Linked DNA regions of Homo sapiens: all the other regions are linked to region 5. Evidence: promoter capture Hi-C in human tissues and cell types (Jung and others, 2019). All regions are on one chromosome and are shown on one strand. Each heading gives the region's core, a stretch centred on a gene start or on the middle of the fragment in contact. The rest is flanking DNA. Distances are from core to core; before and after follow the strand shown. Region 1 has its middle 120 kb from the start of LINC01994. Region 2 has its middle 6.2 kb from the start of LINC01995. Region 3 has its middle 180 kb from the start of LINC01994. Region 4 has its middle 93 kb from the start of LINC01994. Region 5 holds the start of SOX2 (SRY-box transcription factor 2). Region 6 has its middle 65 kb from the start of LINC01994. Region 7 overlaps LINC01994 (long intergenic non-protein coding RNA 1994).

What was found. Contacts are between HindIII fragments. The study calls those that stand out against the background at their distance.
Region 1: a fragment that was not itself captured here is called in contact with the fragment with the promoter of SOX2 in region 5 in 1 of the 25 tissues and cell types used here (lymphoblastoid cells).
Region 2: a contact is called between a fragment that was not itself captured here and the fragment with the promoter of SOX2 in region 5, in 1 of the 25 tissues and cell types used here (lymphoblastoid cells).
Region 3: a contact is called between a fragment that was not itself captured here and the fragment with the promoter of SOX2 in region 5, in 3 of the 25 tissues and cell types used here (dorsolateral prefrontal cortex, hippocampus and lymphoblastoid cells).
Region 4: a contact is called between a fragment that was not itself captured here and the fragment with the promoter of SOX2 in region 5, in 2 of the 25 tissues and cell types used here (dorsolateral prefrontal cortex and lymphoblastoid cells).
Region 6: a fragment that was not itself captured here is called in contact with the fragment with the promoter of SOX2 in region 5 in 1 of the 25 tissues and cell types used here (lymphoblastoid cells).
Region 7: a fragment that was not itself captured here is called in contact with the fragment with the promoter of SOX2 in region 5 in 2 of the 25 tissues and cell types used here (dorsolateral prefrontal cortex and thymus).

What each region holds. Positions count from the first base shown.
Region 1 is chr3:182,366,791-182,369,490 of GRCh38, forward strand. No RefSeq gene overlaps it. Among named protein-coding and RNA genes, the nearest start is that of LINC01994, 120 kb to the right of the region's middle. The HindIII fragment of the contact is 5,801 bases long and covers 1-2,700 here.
Region 2 is chr3:182,511,987-182,514,686 of GRCh38, forward strand. No RefSeq gene overlaps it. Among named protein-coding and RNA genes, the nearest start is that of LINC01995, 6.2 kb to the left of the region's middle. The HindIII fragment of the contact is 5,075 bases long and covers 1-2,700 here.
Region 3 is chr3:182,302,680-182,305,379 of GRCh38, forward strand. No RefSeq gene overlaps it. Among named protein-coding and RNA genes, the nearest start is that of LINC01994, 180 kb to the right of the region's middle. The HindIII fragment of the contact is 3,492 bases long and covers 1-2,700 here.
Region 4 is chr3:182,392,231-182,395,033 of GRCh38, forward strand. No RefSeq gene overlaps it. Among named protein-coding and RNA genes, the nearest start is that of LINC01994, 93 kb to the right of the region's middle. The HindIII fragment of the contact is 3,745 bases long and covers 1-2,803 here.
Region 5 is chr3:181,710,623-181,713,322 of GRCh38, forward strand. It overlaps SOX2 (SRY-box transcription factor 2), which reads left to right and starts at 1,303. Exons shown (of 1, transcript NM_003106.4): 1 at 1,303-2,700. The coding sequence starts at 1,739. The coding sequence ends at 2,692. The region is part of intron 6 of SOX2-OT (SOX2 overlapping transcript); the gene reads left to right. RefSeq lists enhancers at 1-585, 586-1,438, 1,439-2,292, 2,293-2,700, a promoter at 531-1,564 and a silencer at 1,144-1,203. The HindIII fragment of the contact is 19,833 bases long and covers 1-2,700 here.
Region 6 is chr3:182,420,002-182,422,701 of GRCh38, forward strand. No RefSeq gene overlaps it. Among named protein-coding and RNA genes, the nearest start is that of LINC01994, 65 kb to the right of the region's middle. The HindIII fragment of the contact is 6,103 bases long and covers 1-2,700 here.
Region 7 is chr3:182,478,076-182,480,914 of GRCh38, forward strand. All of the region lies in intron 1 of LINC01994 (long intergenic non-protein coding RNA 1994), which reads right to left. Among named protein-coding and RNA genes, the nearest start is that of LINC01994, 6.9 kb to the right of the region's middle. RefSeq lists a silencer at 1,946-2,240. The HindIII fragment of the contact is 3,538 bases long and covers 1-2,839 here.

The DNA.
Region 1 (2,700 bases), core at 191-2,690, 660 kb after region 5:
TAAAATACGTAGAATGTGTATTTAACTTATGTCATATCTTTCCTTTAAGGAGTTAAAATGAGTTGTCATAATGATTTGACTTAATTAACCAATTCAGTCATTCCTTGCCACCACCACCACTCCCAAAAAAAGGTAAATATTATGATACCCTTTTGCACTGGAAATGAAAACAAATGCAATTTTTAAGATCCTAAGCCAATCAAAGACCAGCTCAAATCAAGCTCTTGCATCCAAGACTGCTTTGACTGAGTTGCCAAGTGATCCCACAAGTAACATCTATGTAGGAGGAAGGGGAAATGCGAGCACTGTAAGACCTCATCCTTTAAGGAAGTATAATTGGATGTCTCTTGTGTAACTTAGGCCATTTCAGAGCTTAAGATAAATACACATCAAATATAAGGGGGAAAAAGAGGAATGTATTGATTTTATCCCACTGACAAAAAGAAAAAACAGTTTCTATTGAAATACATACAAATATATTTTAAAACATTTGATAAAGAAAACACAAAAAGAAACAGGATGGACGGAAAGTTATATTCCCTCTAAAGTTACTGAGGACCAAAATGCAGCAGTTTATTTCCAGTTTTCCCAGACAACATGCAGTATAGCAGGAGATTGTCTTTCTGTTCGAAACTCCTACATTCAAGTCTAAAATATTTTATTTAAACTATCAATTTATTTGCTACATACAACTATATCCTCAATATTTATTTTAAATATTATATATACTTTATAAAATATTTCAGAACAGTTACTGAAACTATAACCACATGCATTTTATTGAATATCGACAGATAAAATGCAGGCTTTGGAGTCAGACTGTGTGAGTTTGTAGTCCAGTGTGACCACTTTGTGGCTCTTTAACCTTGGACAAACTTTTGTCTCTGGCCCCACCTTATAGGACAGATATATTAACATCACGTGGTGAGGTGATGAGGACTAAATAAGATATGTTTGTAAAGTTCCAGCATACTGACTGGTAGAGAATAGATTTTGGGGTTCCTCTCTCTCACTGATACATCTTCCTTTTTCTCAGTGAACATTTACCTTTAGCAATCAAAGACATTAATGATTGAATATCTGGTCTTTCTGCTGCAAGGTTAGAATTTCTTCAAGAAACAATGCCAATGCAACTTCAGGAATACCTGACCCCTCCTCCTGTTTTCAACCACTCAGAATCTGTCTCTAACCACTCAGAATCTGTCTCCATCCTGGACTCTGTGTAGTTCCCAGTATCATATTTTCTGATAGTCTTAGAACTTAAGCCACCATTCCCTGCCACACTGATGCCACCTTGTTGATTACTTAACCAAGTGATTTCTTTCAGGTGGAAGAGATGTACCCAGGACCTCTGTAGAAGCAGGTACAAGCTACCAAAAGTTCCTACTTTATTTATTTTGAGTTTGGAATGAGCAACTACAAGGAAAGGAAGAAAATTGTCAAATAAAAGAAAATTTTATAAATTATTTATAAAATCACATTCATTTAAAAGCTAATTCTACTCTTGACTGAATTGCAAATGGAACTAAAATCTTTCTTGGTTCTCATACCTTTCCTTTGCTAGTTTAGGCATTTGTCACCTTTGGCTTTATTGATTTATTCAGAAAGTAGGTATTGAGTACCTACTATGTGCTAGATGCTGAGTAATTTAGACAGTTTGTGAATTGTTTCTTCTTCAAGTCAAGTCTTCCTTCTTCCAGTCTAGTGATTCTCAAAATTTAGTGTGCAACAGAATCACCCAGAGTGATTGTGAACACATTGACTATAGACTACTCCCCCAGGGTCTGATTTAGGAGGTCTGTGTAGGAGTCTGAGAATTCACATTTTTAACCTGTGGGTTCTGGTCTAGGAAACACTTTGAGACCACTTTCTATGTTGTTTCTAATCCATTTGCCATAACCGTCACATGTGTTAACCTCCTCAAATTTAATGTCACTCTATAGAGTAAAAACCCTATTTGGTTCTCCAATCCATAAAATAAAGCCTTATCAAAACCTTCAGGATCTGCCATTCACAGTTGCTACTTTTCCAGCCTCTCCTCCTGATGATGATTACACATGATAAAATACTCTCCACTGTACTGTTCTTTTCTTAGATAAGTTTAACTCTATGCCTATCAAATACTGTATTGGCCCTTTTGGTTCTTTGGAAGCTAAAAGTTTTGAACTTTTCATTTATTAAACAAAAGAAGAGAAGGGTTATCTATTGCCTTTGTAAGTATATTGGCTCAGTGGACACACAAAGCAATCCTTTAGCAGTAGAAACAAGTAATAGCATGATGGAAGGGAACCCTGCCAAGAAGGCCCAAACACCGAAAAAATGTCTTTAAAAATATAGATTTAATTGAAGAAGTATCTGATAACACCACTCACTTTAAATACTCATCAATAGGCTGTTTTTGTTTTACAATAATGTGTCTGAAGATAGTGACAGGAAAAGAGACATCACTGTGCAAACATTAATATCTCACACAACTGCATCAAAGAGAAAAAATGGAACACTAGCTTTCATTTTCATTCAGTGATATTAACCTAAAATAACTTACTGTAGTTTTGCTTGAACTCACCAGGCAAAGTTTTAGTATGTGGTAATGACTACGAAGGAACATTCAAAGTATTACACCTATTTGTGTTGACACACTCTGTGAGAAATGTTGTTTGAAATATGCATTGAAATAAAGCGTCTCCAACTAACTCGAGT
Region 2 (2,700 bases), core at 138-2,637, 800 kb after region 5:
TAGGAGAAGAATGATCAGGAAGTTAGAGAAAGGTTTCTTCATGGGGTGACCTCAAAAGGGAGAATGGCAGGGAGCTACCAAATTCCTGACATATGTATAACAATTCACAATTTATAACATTTTTCTCATATATTATTACAATACTGCCTTTTTCGTATCCCCTTGAGCACTTGTATTGTATTTGATATCGTGAATTTATCTGTGCTTTAGTTTACCTTTCCAAGAAGGTGAATTTCCTTTAGAGTTTTCTCATATTTTTTTTTCTATCTGTGAAATGCATCTCACTAAACTCAGCCTTCAACCTGAGGTCATAGTAAAAGAGAAATTAAGTTTGGGTCTCCCATATATGTCTTTTTTTTTCCATATATTCCTTAGAGCAAAAATTTTTGAGTGCTATTAAATTTTCAAGAAACGAATAAGATAACATTTTTTCAAAAGAGTGAGATTTAAACATTCAAAGTCTGTGAACAGTTTAAATCACATGAAGAAAGTTTTTGTTTGTTCCTAATGAAGGTTTATTTGGAATTCTTTGCTGAAGTACAAAAGGGGAGACCTTGAACCCTGGAGGAGTCTGGCTTGACAAGGAGAAAGTAGTTTTGTCTATGGAAACCCTTAAAGATATTGCCACTGAAGGTAGGACCAAGGCTCACCTCATTGACTAATGGGTATGGTTAATCTTTCAGCCTACATGGTAATATCATTTACAGCCCATGTTTTAACCATCCAAATCTGTTTGATAATAACCTGTGGTTTATTGACATTCAGTGATACACTGTTATCAGTTCTCATGATGTGTCATCTGCAGAGATGGCACCTCTTATTGCTCCTTTAAAATAAAAATTGAAGAACATCTAATTTTCTTCAGTGACATGTTAGACTCATGACAGCCTACATTCCTCCTTCTTTAGAATAATTTTTGAGAAAGAATATAAGTTAGGTCTTTCCCATCCCTACCAGGTGCAGGAAAGAAGACATCTTTCCTGCTCCCTCATCCCTGCATGTCTGCATGTCTGTGTAGAGAAATCTTCTAAGGATTTTTTTTTTTTTTTTTGAGATGGAGTTTCGCTCTCGTTGCCCAGGCTGGAGTGCAATGGCTCAATCTCGGCTCACTGCAACCTCCGCCCCTCAGGTTCAAGCAATTCTCCTGCCTCAGCCTCCCGAGTAGCTGGGATTACAGGCATGTGCCACCACGCCTGGCTAATTTTGTATTTTTAGTAGATATGGGGTTTCACCATGTTGGTCAGGCTGGCCTCGAACTTCTGACCTCAGGTGATCTGCACACCTCGGCCTCCCAAAGTGCTGGGATTACAGGTGTGAGCCACAGCACCCAGCCTCTTCTATGGATTTTTTAAATCAATTACAGAAACTTGGTGGTGGGATCATGGGGTGGTGGAAGGCAGGGCAGCATGTGGGGAGCATAGCAATCGCTTCTATGCATGTGGCCGACTCTCCATTCATTCCGCAGTGAAGGGAGCAGCACTACACTAGAAGTCAAACAGCCTGAGTCCTAGCCCAGCTCTCCCTCTTACTAACTGTGTGACTGTGTGACCTCTCTGCTCTAAAGCTTCATTTTTCCTTGTCTTCAAATGGAATGATAATGCCCTGCCAGTGTCATCCCTGGGATGCTTAAGAGAGGTTCAAATGAGTCAAAACAGGTGAAAGCACTGTGAAAAGTCTAAAGTGCCAAGTACTGTACCCGAGGCCTCTCTTGATTATGTACACTATTTGGGCAAGAGCTTGGGCCCAGGGTCGAACCCATCTGAGTTAGAATCCTGGCACTGTCTCCTGTCAACCGTATGACCCTGCACAAGCTTCACTCTCTAAGCTTCATGTTCTTCATCTATAAAATGGAGAGCACTCACCCTCAAAGAGTTGTAAGGATTTAATGAGATCATAAATGTGGCACCCTGACAGTGTCTGGAATAGAGGTTTCTCAATGGATGCTGGCTCATATCATTAGTGAAGAGCTACAGCTGTATGGATCAGATCACCCTTTGCTGCAGTGTGGGAGAATGAGACTCATCAAGTGTGCTTGGAAATCCCATCAGATGTAAAATTCATATGTCACTTCCTCGTTGGAAGATTTTTCTCACTCCCCAACCCCTGTGCAGTTTACTAGTCTCTCTCCCATACCACTTCTGTTTGAATATTCTATTGCGTTTAGTAGGCACCATTTTGTAATTTCTTTACTTACATGTGTCCTCTAGTAGACTGTAAGAAACTTGATGCTGGAACTCTGTACTGCTCATCTCAGAATCGTTCATGCCTAAGACAGTGCTCACCTCACAGTAGGCACTTAATAAATGCTTTGGAATGGGATATGTGAATATATGCTATTCTGCTGTAAGTCAGCCTTCAGATAAGTGATGGAGACATAAATATGAAGTGCTGTGACACAGGGGAAAAAGCAACATCCTCAGGGATTAGTAGAGGCTTCACTCCAGCATTCTCTCCCACTCTCTCTGCAGTGTCAAGTCAGAGAGATCTGATGCCTCTGCTATGCAGTTCAGGCAAATATTCATAACTCAATTATTTTACTGGCCCTATAAAACCAATAAAAATGAAGCAAAATCATGCTGGAAATCAATATTTAAAATTCAGTTAACTCCATAGTTTGCCAGATTTTGTATCCCTGATAAAATGTCACAAAATCCTGAACTCCAAAGAGAACAAACAGTGTCAGAATCAGGAAGGCTAAAG
Region 3 (2,700 bases), core at 158-2,657, 590 kb after region 5:
CTTAGTTTCTGGAGAAGACAAACAGTAAATAAGCACTTTTAATAAGTTACGCTCAAATTGGCATGAGAACATGGAAGAGGTGGGGTGGTGAATTCTTAGTGGAGGCTTCTGCCATGCACAATGCCTGGGCTGACCTGTGAAGAAGTGTTTTAGTGGGTGGGAAAGGTGATAGAGGCAAAGTGAACAACACAGTCAGTCTGGTGGTTTAGGGAAACAGCCTAGTGTTTTGGCAATGAAATCTCTTGAGTTCGGGTAAGGTAGGGAAAAAGGCCAGCACATGTCTGGCCCCTGTCAGGTGCCACAGAAAAGTAGGAATTTTTCTTGTTCCAAATAAGATCTAGTCCCTGGCCATGCCCTGGTCTTCCAGGAAGATACAATCCATAGGGCCAATCCCAAACTACACCATCGAATGTTCCTTGAGAGCACCTTTGTACTGATTCCTGTAGCACTCAGAATGCCTCATATAAAAATCCCCAGACTGTGCTGGAAACTGTGGGCCTTTCTTGCCACCATCCTCTTTATTAAGGAAAGATTATCAAATGATTACCTGCCACATTTCAGTTACTACAGAGACAAATGATAAACGATCAGACCCTGGCCTTAAGGAATCTACAATCAAGCATTTATCCTTGGTCCCATCTCCTCAGGACTCAGGGCACTCCAAGGTGGCAAGTAGCCAGGAAGGCAAACAAAGCCACACTGTGTTGAGAGAAGACTATCTGCTTAGCCCTCCTTCCCTTTCCAAGTAATATGTGTATATGTATATAAAGAGAGTGTGTGTATGTGTGTATGTCAGTGGCCTTCCTGAAGACACTGCCTTTGTCTTCAGTCTAATCAAATGAAATACAACTTTCAAATTATTCATAAATGTTTTCATATTAGCTTCTTTAGGAAGCTTTATGAACTTTCAGAGCGTTTTAATACTTAAAATTTTTTTAACGTTGGTTCCTTTTACGATAAGATATGGAAGACAGATGTAAAAAATATATAAGCTTTTCAAAAATGAATAATGTTTTTCTATAGGCATTTTATATTAGCTGGAAGGGGAGAATGGCATGGGCATGAGACGGTGGGGGATATATTTGGTTCATAAACATTGGCATAACTAATAAACAATTATGGAGTGTCTTCTAGGTGCAGGGTGCTGGGGCTACAAAGGATTTCGGTGAGTGGTACCTGCCTTCATGAGCCTGGCCATCACCCTGGGGAGATAGACAAGCATCAGGGCAGGAGCATGGGAGACTAGGTGGAGAAGCAAAAGCACAGAGCCAGGGGTGATGTACGAAGGCTTAGATGACAAGAGGTTTTTGCATCTAGAACACTGAGCAGCAATAGCAGGCATGAGAGACATAGGGAGATTAATAAGATACTATGTCCCTGAGAATGAGCCCTATCTGCCCTTTTGGCTACAGTGGGAAACCCTAGACCTTTGAGAAACCATTATGGCTTGTTAGGCTTCAGGATGGAGAAATTCTGCCTGCTCTGGCAAGAGAGGCTCCTGGCTTGCACTCCTAGTGGGCAGCTCCTGAAGGAGAGGCTGTGGCCTGGAGCAAGGGTGGCGAGGTTGGCTGTTAAAGCTTCCAATATTTAAAGTCTGGTCTCTGGGCCTTGATGACCTCTCAGGACTCAACTCAGATTTTGTAAATCATGGTAGCCGATGTTAGGGTGACCATATAATTTATTGTCTAAACTAGGAAACTTCTGAAAGAGAAAGAGGGCATCATTAATAACTGGGCACAAACAACAGATTTAAATGAGGACTCTCCTGGCTTGAGATGTAGAGCCTCCCTAGCTGTTAACCATCAACACCTCCTAATGCATGGCCATGCATGGTGCCTGCTGGTGTTTTTTAGCCTAGTTCCATCACACACACCTTAATAATTAGAAGAAACAGAGGAATTTAAGGCAATGATCAGTTAATCCTGAGAGAGGGAAGCCAAGTTTCACAACTAGAGAGAGCCCAGAGTGTTACTAATAAAATAATCCAAAATATTATAAAATCATTAACCATACTTAAGTAAATAAATTCCAGCTGTAATTCATCCCAGAGCACAACACACAGAACTGCCCATATAAGAAGCAGTTCAACAATGAGAACACATGGACACAGGGAAGGGAACATCACACACTGGGGCGTGTCAGTGGGTGGGGGTCCAGGGGAGGGAGAGCATTAAGGCAAATACCTAATGCATGTGGACCTTAAAACCTAGATGACGGGTTGATGGGTGCAGCAAACCACTATGGCACATGTATACTTACGTAACAAACCTGCACATTCTGCACATGTATCCCAGAACTTAAAGTAAAATAAAAGAAGAAGAAAAAGCCGTTCAACTGCAAGTCACACTTGCATGGGGTGTGCTCTCTGGATGTTAGCTTGGGGCTCCTACAGGATACCTGCTCTGTTTTCTTTGTTCTCTGGGTTTCTTCTGCAGGTCTTTCCTGGATGCCCCAGTTTATTTATCCAGAAGATAACTGCCTATATCTTTTTGGGGGTCCCCAATGTATAATTCACATTAGCTTATGAATCAAGTGAGATAATCCCAAACACATTCTTCAAAGGCAGTAAAAATCTTTCTAGCCATTTATTTTAATCTGATGTGAAAATCAATGAACAGATTGGAATTTAATATGCTTTATAAATTATTGGGAAGTGGAAAAAAAAGACTCCTTTCTTGAGGTCACTGATTTGTGAAGACA
Region 4 (2,803 bases), core at 302-2,801, 680 kb after region 5:
TGGACTTAGATAAGGAAACTAATTCATTGTGAGTCTATAGGCAAGACATTTTATGAAAATCTGCCCAAGATTTAGATCACTCCTGTACTTAACTGGGTTTACAAGGCCCTTTCTTTCTATGCATTTATTTTGCATTTAGGGTAAGAAACCACCAGGTGGACTCCTGAGCCTTTTTTAGAGCCTCATGGTTCAAACAGCTAGGCTTCCTGCAGGTATAGTTCACAAAGAAATATAGTTTTTTTTTTTCCCCCACGAAAACAACTTTTATTAAAACAGTGAAGTGCAAATATTAAATATATAAGGACTCTTTTTCTAGAAAGAATACAGAACATAGAGCAAGACTTGGAGGAGTAAAAACAGCATGGATTTTTAGAGCTGGAAAATCTCTTTTCTAATTCAAACTCTGAAATGATGGCCCAGAGTAGCTCAGTGACTTTACCAAGGCTACACTGCCAGTCCAGGGAAGAGCTGAGAGCAGACTCCTAATCTACAAGCTTCCTGTTAGTCTTCTACTGAACACGTTCCTCACGTACCTCCTGTTAATGACTCTTTACAACCCACCAAGGCTTCTTTTCACACTCGAGTTAAGATAGGATGTTTCCTTAAATTCACCTTGAATCTCTTCACCTAAGCCTGTACACAACTTTGGGACTTTTCAGGACATTCAAAGCCCCTGTGTAAGGCCCCACATAATAACTCCTCACAAGACAGCTCTTATCTTCCTGCTTATAACTCCTTAAGAACTGCCAGCATTGCCTGCATACCCCCTGCTCCTAGTCCTTGTTTTACATATAGTGGCAAAGTCAAAAAAGAAAAAAAGAGAGATATGTATAATTGTTTATACAGTTGTAATTGTCTCAAGCAAATGGAGAGGATTTATTTCTTTTCCACCTGGACTAATTCTTCCCAAACTTCTCCATATTCTGACTTTTTGATACTTTCAAATATAAATATATTGCTATGTTTACTCTTTAAGCATTTGTTCCTTGAAGAGACGTTTTCAAGCACCTATTAGGTGCCAAGCAGGGTTACTGGGTACTGGAACAGCAGCAAAGCCACACTGTGCCTGCCCTGATGGTGCTAACACTTTAAAGGGGAGAGGGACCAGGGAATGAGCAGCATGCAAATACATTTGTATGTTTAGATTGTACAGTGAGTGTAAAGGAAAACAATGAGGGAAGTGAGAATGAATGCTGTGGATATCCACTTTAAGTTGAAGAAGTGGCAAAAAAATTACAGCTTCTTTCCTGTGATTTTATAATCTGTCTTTGTGACAAAATCTGTACTTTTCTAGTGGGATGTTACTTGTTTTCTCAGAATAAAACTTTCAGAAAAAGAGACATAAGATCATTTCTCCATATCGCCTTAACTTCCTCGTCTATAAAATAGGTAATCATAATGCTCCTCAGCCTACCGACCTCATATAGGTACTTTGTGAATAAAATAAGTCCATAAATGTGAGGTTGCCTCCAATATGTCACGTATTATTTAGAACAACTAATAGAATTTATACTGAAGTACAGTTTTTTAAAAAAAGAATAACAGCAATACATTTGGAAACATCTTGACAAACAAATAAACATTATGTCTCACCACAGGTTTTGACGGCAATTAAAGATGCCCACTTTCTAAAAATGTAACAAAACTTAGGATTCCCAAGTGAGCCAGCAAATATGCCCCTTTTAGCTTCTGTGCCAGTATTATAGACTCTGCCTTTAATTTTGTTTAACTGTAATAAAAGCTTATCATGCAGCCAAATCCCCACAGCAATGGACTCAAACGTTCTGCATGTGGAAGCCTGCTACCTTTCAGCTTCCCCGTTAAACACCTGTTCTGGGCTTGGGCCATGCTTCTGGTTTCTCATTCAGGTGGAGAGTCTTGCTTAAGGGGACAGGCAGGTATTTTTGCTGTCACCAAAGACAGCTAATTTGGGAAGCCTAATCTCGCAAAGGGGCCAAGTTTCAGCTCTCAGAGTGTTAGGTTTAGAGTAGAAGGAACTCCGCCCAGAAATGCAACCTGAATACTTCCCCCTCTGCCTCTCTCCTGTCATTGCTGAGAATCCTCTAAATAACTGACAACTTTTACAGATTTCAGGCAGCCAGGTCTGCATGGGAAGCTCCCATTCTTTCCTGTCACCGGTCTAATTTAATACTTTCCTCCTCAGATGGATATAGCACTCTTGACAAGCAGTTGCCTTGTGGTTTACTTCTGCTAATTCAAACACAACAATAGGATGATAAATTAGTTACAGGGATTGAAGGAAGGAAGAATTTTACAGGTGTGAATTCTTAGCCATGTCTGATCCAAATATTTCCAGAGGAATCATATGCTAGGCAAATACCATCTCCCCACTTTCCAGGCCTTTGCATCTCTTAATAGAAAAAGATGTCTTTTACAGGCGACAATTTTGCAATTTTGTTTAACCATAAGGATGAATCTTTGCCTGTCCTCCTTTCCAAAGCACTACTATGGAATAAAAAACAAGTTTCATTCAATAGTTCATCGGATAATAAGGATTGGTGATGCCAGTCACTGATTTCATTTCCAAACTGTGACTTAAAATATACAGCAGTGCTAGCAGCTGTTGATCATCTTAATGCTGGTGAGAAACAAAAGCAGTTACTCTCTGTCCCAGACCATTTTGATTTTAGAATGGAGAATTCTGTGCATAAAGTATTAGCTTGAAGGATTTTGTCATTAAAGTTTTGGAGAAAGAGCAAGTAATGTCTCAAGCACCTGCCTACTCAATCATAATCACTATTTCACAAGTAGGGAAATTAATTCTCAAAAAGCTGTGCATGAT
Region 5 (2,700 bases), core at 53-2,552:
ATCTCATCCTCCTCTAACCCGGGCCTTGCTGGGCTCCCCCTTCCCCAGTCCCGGCCGCCTTCTCCCAGTGTGCGCTGCCTGCACCTGTGCCTGGAGAGCATCGACCCCGCCTCCCAGGCCTTGAGCCCCTTTGCGGCGCAGCCCCAGCCTTGCGCGGCCTGGGCTTTGCGGCCACCACAATGGAAATCTACGGGGAAAATGCCAGGGCTGGTTCTGCTGGAGTCCTGGGAACTCTGCGTGGGAGGGAGTTTGTGACTGCGGCCCAAAAGCCACCTCCATACAGTGCCGTGGGATGCCAGGAAGTTGAAATCACCCTCCCCCATCGCCTGCACTTTTGAGCGCCCTTCCGTCTGTGTCTTTCCCCAGCCCCCATTTGAAAGCCGCACGACCGAAACCCTTCTTACGGGGAGGCATGGGATGGGAATGGGGAGTGGGGGCAGACAGTAGAAGCATCCCCTTTGCTACGGTTGAATGAAGACAGTCTAGTGGGAGATGTGGCTGGGGCTAAGAGGAAGAGCTGCAGTTTCCTGGGCCAAAGAGCTGAGTTGGACAGGGAGATGGCAGCTTACCAAGGCCTGCTGGTTCTCAGCTCTAGAGTCTGCCTTATGGTCCGAGCAGGATTTATTTTTAAGAACAGAGCAAGTTACGTGGAAGCAAGGAAGGTTTTGAGGACAGAGGTTTGGGTCTCCTAACTTCTAGTCGGGACTGTGAGAAGGGCGTGAGAGAGTGTTGGCACCTGTAAGGTAAGAGAGGAGAGCGGAAGAGCGCAGTACGGGAGCGGCACCAGAGGGGCTGGAGTTGGGGGGGAGTGCTGTGGATGAGCGGGAGAACAATGACACACCAACTCCTGCACTGGCTGTTTCCAGAAATACGAGTTGGACAGCCGCCCTGAGCCACCCACTGTGCCCTGCCCCACCCCCGCACCTTAGCTGCTTCCCGCGTCCCATCCTCATTTAAGTACCCTGCACCAAAAAGTAAATCAATATTAAGTTTAAAGAAAAAAAAACCCACGTAGTCTTAGTGCTGTTTACCCACTTCCTTCGAAAAGGCGTGTGGTGTGACCTGTTGCTGCGAGAGGGGATACAAAGGTTTCTCAGTGGCTGGCAGGCTGGCTCTGGGAGCCTCCTCCCCCTCCTCGCCTGCCCCCTCCTCCCCCGGCCTCCCCCGCGCGGCCGGCGGCGCGGGAGGCCCCGCCCCCTTTCATGCAAAACCCGGCAGCGAGGCTGGGCTCGAGTGGAGGAGCCGCCGCGCGCTGATTGGTCGCTAGAAACCCATTTATTCCCTGACAGCCCCCGTCACATGGATGGTTGTCTATTAACTTGTTCAAAAAAGTATCAGGAGTTGTCAAGGCAGAGAAGAGAGTGTTTGCAAAAGGGGGAAAGTAGTTTGCTGCCTCTTTAAGACTAGGACTGAGAGAAAGAAGAGGAGAGAGAAAGAAAGGGAGAGAAGTTTGAGCCCCAGGCTTAAGCCTTTCCAAAAAATAATAATAACAATCATCGGCGGCGGCAGGATCGGCCAGAGGAGGAGGGAAGCGCTTTTTTTGATCCTGATTCCAGTTTGCCTCTCTCTTTTTTTCCCCCAAATTATTCTTCGCCTGATTTTCCTCGCGGAGCCCTGCGCTCCCGACACCCCCGCCCGCCTCCCCTCCTCCTCTCCCCCCGCCCGCGGGCCCCCCAAAGTCCCGGCCGGGCCGAGGGTCGGCGGCCGCCGGCGGGCCGGGCCCGCGCACAGCGCCCGCATGTACAACATGATGGAGACGGAGCTGAAGCCGCCGGGCCCGCAGCAAACTTCGGGGGGCGGCGGCGGCAACTCCACCGCGGCGGCGGCCGGCGGCAACCAGAAAAACAGCCCGGACCGCGTCAAGCGGCCCATGAATGCCTTCATGGTGTGGTCCCGCGGGCAGCGGCGCAAGATGGCCCAGGAGAACCCCAAGATGCACAACTCGGAGATCAGCAAGCGCCTGGGCGCCGAGTGGAAACTTTTGTCGGAGACGGAGAAGCGGCCGTTCATCGACGAGGCTAAGCGGCTGCGAGCGCTGCACATGAAGGAGCACCCGGATTATAAATACCGGCCCCGGCGGAAAACCAAGACGCTCATGAAGAAGGATAAGTACACGCTGCCCGGCGGGCTGCTGGCCCCCGGCGGCAATAGCATGGCGAGCGGGGTCGGGGTGGGCGCCGGCCTGGGCGCGGGCGTGAACCAGCGCATGGACAGTTACGCGCACATGAACGGCTGGAGCAACGGCAGCTACAGCATGATGCAGGACCAGCTGGGCTACCCGCAGCACCCGGGCCTCAATGCGCACGGCGCAGCGCAGATGCAGCCCATGCACCGCTACGACGTGAGCGCCCTGCAGTACAACTCCATGACCAGCTCGCAGACCTACATGAACGGCTCGCCCACCTACAGCATGTCCTACTCGCAGCAGGGCACCCCTGGCATGGCTCTTGGCTCCATGGGTTCGGTGGTCAAGTCCGAGGCCAGCTCCAGCCCCCCTGTGGTTACCTCTTCCTCCCACTCCAGGGCGCCCTGCCAGGCCGGGGACCTCCGGGACATGATCAGCATGTATCTCCCCGGCGCCGAGGTGCCGGAACCCGCCGCCCCCAGCAGACTTCACATGTCCCAGCACTACCAGAGCGGCCCGGTGCCCGGCACGGCCATTAACGGCACACTGCCCCTCTCACACATGTGAGGGCCGGA
Region 6 (2,700 bases), core at 5-2,504, 710 kb after region 5:
CACATATACACCATGCAATACTATGCAGCCATAAAAAACGTTGAGTTCATGTCCTTTGTAGGGACATGGATGAAGCTGTAAACCATCATTCTGAGCAAACTATCGCCAAGGACAGAAAACCAAACACCGCATGTTCTCACTCATAGGTGGGAATTGAAAAATGAGAACACTTGGACACAGGGTGGGAAACATCACATACTGGAGCCTGTCATGGGGTTGGGGGAGGGAGGAGGGATAGCATTAGGAGATATACCTAATGTAAATGGCGGTTTTAATTGGTACAGCACACCAACATGGCACATGTATACATATGTAACAAACCTGCATGTTGTCCACATGTACCCTAGAACTTAAACTATAACAATAAAAAAATTTTAAAAAGAATAAGATTCAGTTAAAGTGTCACCTTGGAGACAATACCTTGCTGGACTTGGGCAAAGTTTTTCAGAAGGTTATATATGCTATGAATCAGCATTCAGTATATGATGCTGTTTATCCAATAGACAGAATTAATAGGTTCAGGGATCAAAGAGTGGAAACGGAAGAGTCACCACTCATTATTATCCCTTGTGACCCACTAGCAAACTTTTGCTTCCTATTCTAGTGACTTTATGTTCTGCTGGCCTAGAGATCTTAGTTCCGGAAGGAGGAATGCTTCCAGCAAGAAACAAAATAATTCCACTGAACTGCATGTTAAGATTTTCACCCAGCTACTTTGGGCTCTTTATGCCTCTGAATCAACAGGAAAAGAAGGGAGTTACAGTGTTGGCCTGAGTGAATGATCCAGGCTACAAAGGGGAAATTGGACTACTCCTCCACAAAAATAAGGAAAAGTATGTCTGGTATACAGGAGATCCCTTAGGGAGTCTTTTAGTATTACCACACCCTGTGGTAAAGGTCAGTGTAACACTACAACAGCCCAATCTAGGCAGGGCTACTAATAGCCCAGATTCTTCAGGAATGGTTTGGTTCACCTCATCAGGCAAAGAACCATGACCAGCTGACATGCTTGCTGAAGGCAAGGGGAATACTGAATGAATAGTAGCAGAAGGTAGTTATAAATACCAGCTATGATCATGTGACCAGTTACATAAATGAGACTTTAATTATCATAAGAATTTTCTCCTTATTTTTTATGAATACACTTGTGTATATACATATATATATATATATATATATATATATATATATATACACACACATTAAACAGATATCTTTGTTTTCTTTCTGTTCTTATTTCCTTATTATATAACAGAAGATGTATTGACTTTATGGCAGCATTTAAGTACTGTTATTTTTATATTATTGTATTTAAGGAATATCAGGGGAAGAATAAACATCACTCAAGAACTTTCACTTCCTCTTTTGGGGGAGGGATTAGTATTAGCGCCTTTTCCCTTGTATTCAAGATAGTTGTATCATGTTAGGCAAAATAATGATTTTGTTATTATCTGTATTTGGAGATTAAGCATGATTTACAAAAAGACATGTGGGTACCAACGTGACAAGGAGTGGACTTGTGGTGGTTAATTTTACGTGTCAACTTGACTAGGCAAAGAAAAGCCCAGATAGCTGGTACATTATTTCTGGATGTGTCTATGAGGATGTTTCCAGAAGAGATTAGAATTTGAATCGGTAGACTGAGTAAAGATCATCCTCACCAGTGTGAGTGGACTTGACCTTGTCTGTTGAGGGCCTAAATAGAACAAAAAGGTGGAGAAAGGGTGAATTTGCTGCCTGTGCTTGAGCTGGAACACTCATCTTCTCCTTCTCTTGGACATCAGCACTCACGGCTCTCAAGCCTTCAGACTCTGAATGGGTCTTACACCATCGGCCTCCCCTGGATCTCAGGCCCTCAGGCTGAGACTGAAATTGCGCCACTGGCTTTGCTGGCTCTCCAGCTTGCAGACAGCAGACTGTGGGACTTGCCAGCCTTCAAAATCATGTAAGCCAATTCTTCACAATATTTTTTTTAATCTATCTATCTACCTATCTATCCATTTATCTATCTACCTACCTACCTACCTACCTATCGCTCCATCTATAGCCTATTGGTTCTGTTCCTCTGAAGAACCCTGGCTAATGTACCTTTTATAAGGGCTTTACTTTTCTTTCCCACTTTCTAATATTATTCTTCTTTCTGGGGAATTTCAGTGTGAGTATCTTTTAAAATCACCCCTATATCATTGTGCTTTTTCACATGTCCATCTACCTATATGTACAAAGGTATGTGTGTTTGTATGTTTGTCTGTCATGCTAGGGTTGCAGTATGAGCATTATCATTTATTCTGTGCAGATTCCTCTTGTTATACAACCAACCAGAACATCCTTGATTGTTTTCAAATATGGATATCTGATGGGTATGTAATATACATTTATATAATCAATAATATATGAGACATATAATATATATACAATGTTTTCAAGATGTACTCTTGCCTTCCTTTCCTAATTTGCCTCATGTAAAAATTTTTCTTTTCATACCAGTCACAGTGGCGTGTGCCTGTAATCCCAGCTACTCAAGAGGCAGAGGTGGGAGGATGACTTGAGCTCAAGAGTTCAAAACTGCAGTAATCTATTATTGTGCCACTGCACTCTAGCCTGAGTGACAGAGCAAGACCTTTTATCTAAATAAATATGTATATACATACTCACATCAAATATTTTTTCTCTACTCTTCATCATTACATTGTCAAGTTC
Region 7 (2,839 bases), core at 199-2,698, 770 kb after region 5:
TAAGGACTTTATGTGCATAATCCTCTGAACCAGCCCAGCAGCCCAGTGTCACCTTCTGCTACAGAGAAAGAGAGAAGGGAAGGTTGTGCAAGAAGAGATGCTTTAGCTTTCCTTTCAATTTTTTTTTTCTTCCTCACTCCCCTATTGGAAGGAAAGAAAATACGAGCATAAAGAAGGTACCACTTATTTTACCAAAACTTCAAAAGACACCAAATCCAGGTCTCCAGGTAAGTTTCTGGAGTATTCCAGTTATCTTTGATTATGGTTCCAATTAGGATAAGTTTTGCTAAAATGAGTTAGGTATTTCTCTGTGCCTGCCATGGTCATATAATGGAGACAATCAGTCATTTACTGTACACATCAGTGCAGGACTGAGGGAAGGCTTTTAGAAGATGTGGGACTCCACCTTTTCAAAGGGTCAAAGGGCAGACAATTTCACAATAAAGGGCAGAGAGACTTGGACCTCAAGGTTATGGGAGAAAACCTGCTATCTGATCAGAGTGCAAATTGCTCCAAGGATTGGCTGTCAATCACAGAAGAATAAGTAGACCATTATATTTTACTGTCTGCTCCTTGCATAGACTAAATTAGAGCAGTTTGTGTACTTTTTATCACTTTCTTTGTACTTTATGTTGTTAAAAAAATGAATATGGCATATATCCAGTTTTGCCATCAGAGCTTCAAATACAAAGAATATTGACAGAATATTTTTAATAATTTTTTTAAAAATCTTCCCTGGCTATATAAGAGATAAAGCTGTTTTGTTGAACCATACAAATAGAAATTACAGGAATTAGCCATAAAAATATGGATACTGCCTACTTAAAGCTTACATATTTTTACAAGTAAATGATAGAGCAGGGTTTAAATGCAGGTCTGTCCAAACTCATACCGCATAGAAAATTGTGAAAATTAAATACAACGAACTCTAAAAACTAACTTAGGGCAGTGCCTGGCATGCAATAAGCACCCAATAAAGAACACGCACACGCACATTTCATTTCTGCATTTGTCCACAGGGCCCTACTCACTGTATACTCCGCACTCCATGGACTTTAAATACAGCTACCTAAGTGACACAGTAGCCCAGCAGCTGGTTAAACATCAGCAAGTAGAAATGACAGAATGGACAAAGAGGCTATAGAGAAAGGAAGGAATAGTTTTTAAGGTGTGCTACCTGGAGAAAAAGAAGGCTCTGTGAGGTAGCCTAGATGAGGATGGGGGAAAAGTTCTTTAAAAAAGACAACAGGTAAGGGAAATGGTACTGGCTTAGTGGCAAGTAGGAAGATTATAGGATGCAGTGTGCGACTGAGTTCTGCCAGCCACTAGACCTTACTAACAGCCTGTCTCTGAGTCTCTTTTTCTGCAGATGGAGGTCATAGGTGAAAAAAGGATATGTCGAAACCCTGAGTAGATGTACGACAGAAGTAGAAACAAAGTCTCCTCTTTGTTTGCCCTGGGATGTAGCCATATTTCCTTATGACCATATCCCCTGTCTGGCTTGCAGACTACTGTACAGTTTTTGCATTTTTTCTTCAGAAATGACTCACAAATGCTATATTATTTTACCTTCCCAAATTGCTTTCCATAAACCAAAAAAAGGGGGGCTTGGAGTGATATTATAAACATGGCACATCTGTTTTTAATAAATGAAGAAGTATTATAAAATTTTTACTTTGGGGAAATATCCAGAATTTTTTCCTGAAGAAAAATTGTATCCATCTGGTCCCATGAGAGCTGGTTTTTACATTAAGGAATATTTGTTGGTTGGGTGATTGGAGAGTGGGAGTGGGGAAAAGGGGGAAGTTGTTAGATCCAACACTTATCGTTAAGTGGAGTTAGTTTCTAAAAATGTAGCATCCAGAAACTGGTGAGTAATCCTTCTTCGTAGTGCAATATTATGTCACCAGATCTGCTGAGCTAATGCACAATAAAATTAATCCTCCATTTCTGCAAATGCTGGTGATATGGCAATCACAGATGTGCTGAAATAGAAGTGTTCATGCCAGGCAGAGTTCACGAGCCACAGATCTAGCCAATTGTCAAATTTCCGGCCCACACTTCACTCCAAACCCACGCTATCTGAAGGGAGGAGGAAGTGGCTGAAGATTCACTTATCAGCTTTCCAACCCTATCTCATCTCTTTCTCCAGAGTTGTTATTGCACATTTTTGCCATTATTTTACAATTTCCAGCCAACTTGGCAACATACTATTTATGAAGACAGTATGTGGTAGGGCTCGGGCAGGAGAAGTGAAAGTAGGTAAGGGCAAAGAACTGACATTCATGGGCATGGGCATTAAATGGGGCCTTCTAGATTTAAATTTCCCAAAAACCTTGTGGAGCTGGTGTTACACTTCCAATTTTAGACTGGAAGAAACTGCCCAGTAAGCATACCAAAATCAGTACAACCCCAAGCTCTTTCCATTATACCATGTTGATCCAGTCAGCATGTCTATGCTTACATTCTTCTTCTGAATGATCCCTACTGATTTCCAAAAAGGAAGCACTAGGTGAAAGGAATTTAGGGTCAATCTAGTTTAATAACCCAGCCCAACGAATGGCAAAGTAAAGCAAAAGTTACCCTTAACTCACTGGTCCAGTCCATTGTGGCCGTTCATGACTATACTGCGATATCAATGGGGATCTTCTTTTCAGAATCTGGCCACATGCTCATGGAATCAACACCAAGCCCCTCAAAACTCCAGGAAAGAGATTCTGATTGATTAAGCTTGGATCACAAGCCCACTTCCTGGCTAGAGAAAGACAGAATCCCTTGACCAATATAACACCATATGCCAAGGAGAATTGGGTTGCTGTTACCAAAAAGCCAAAATAAA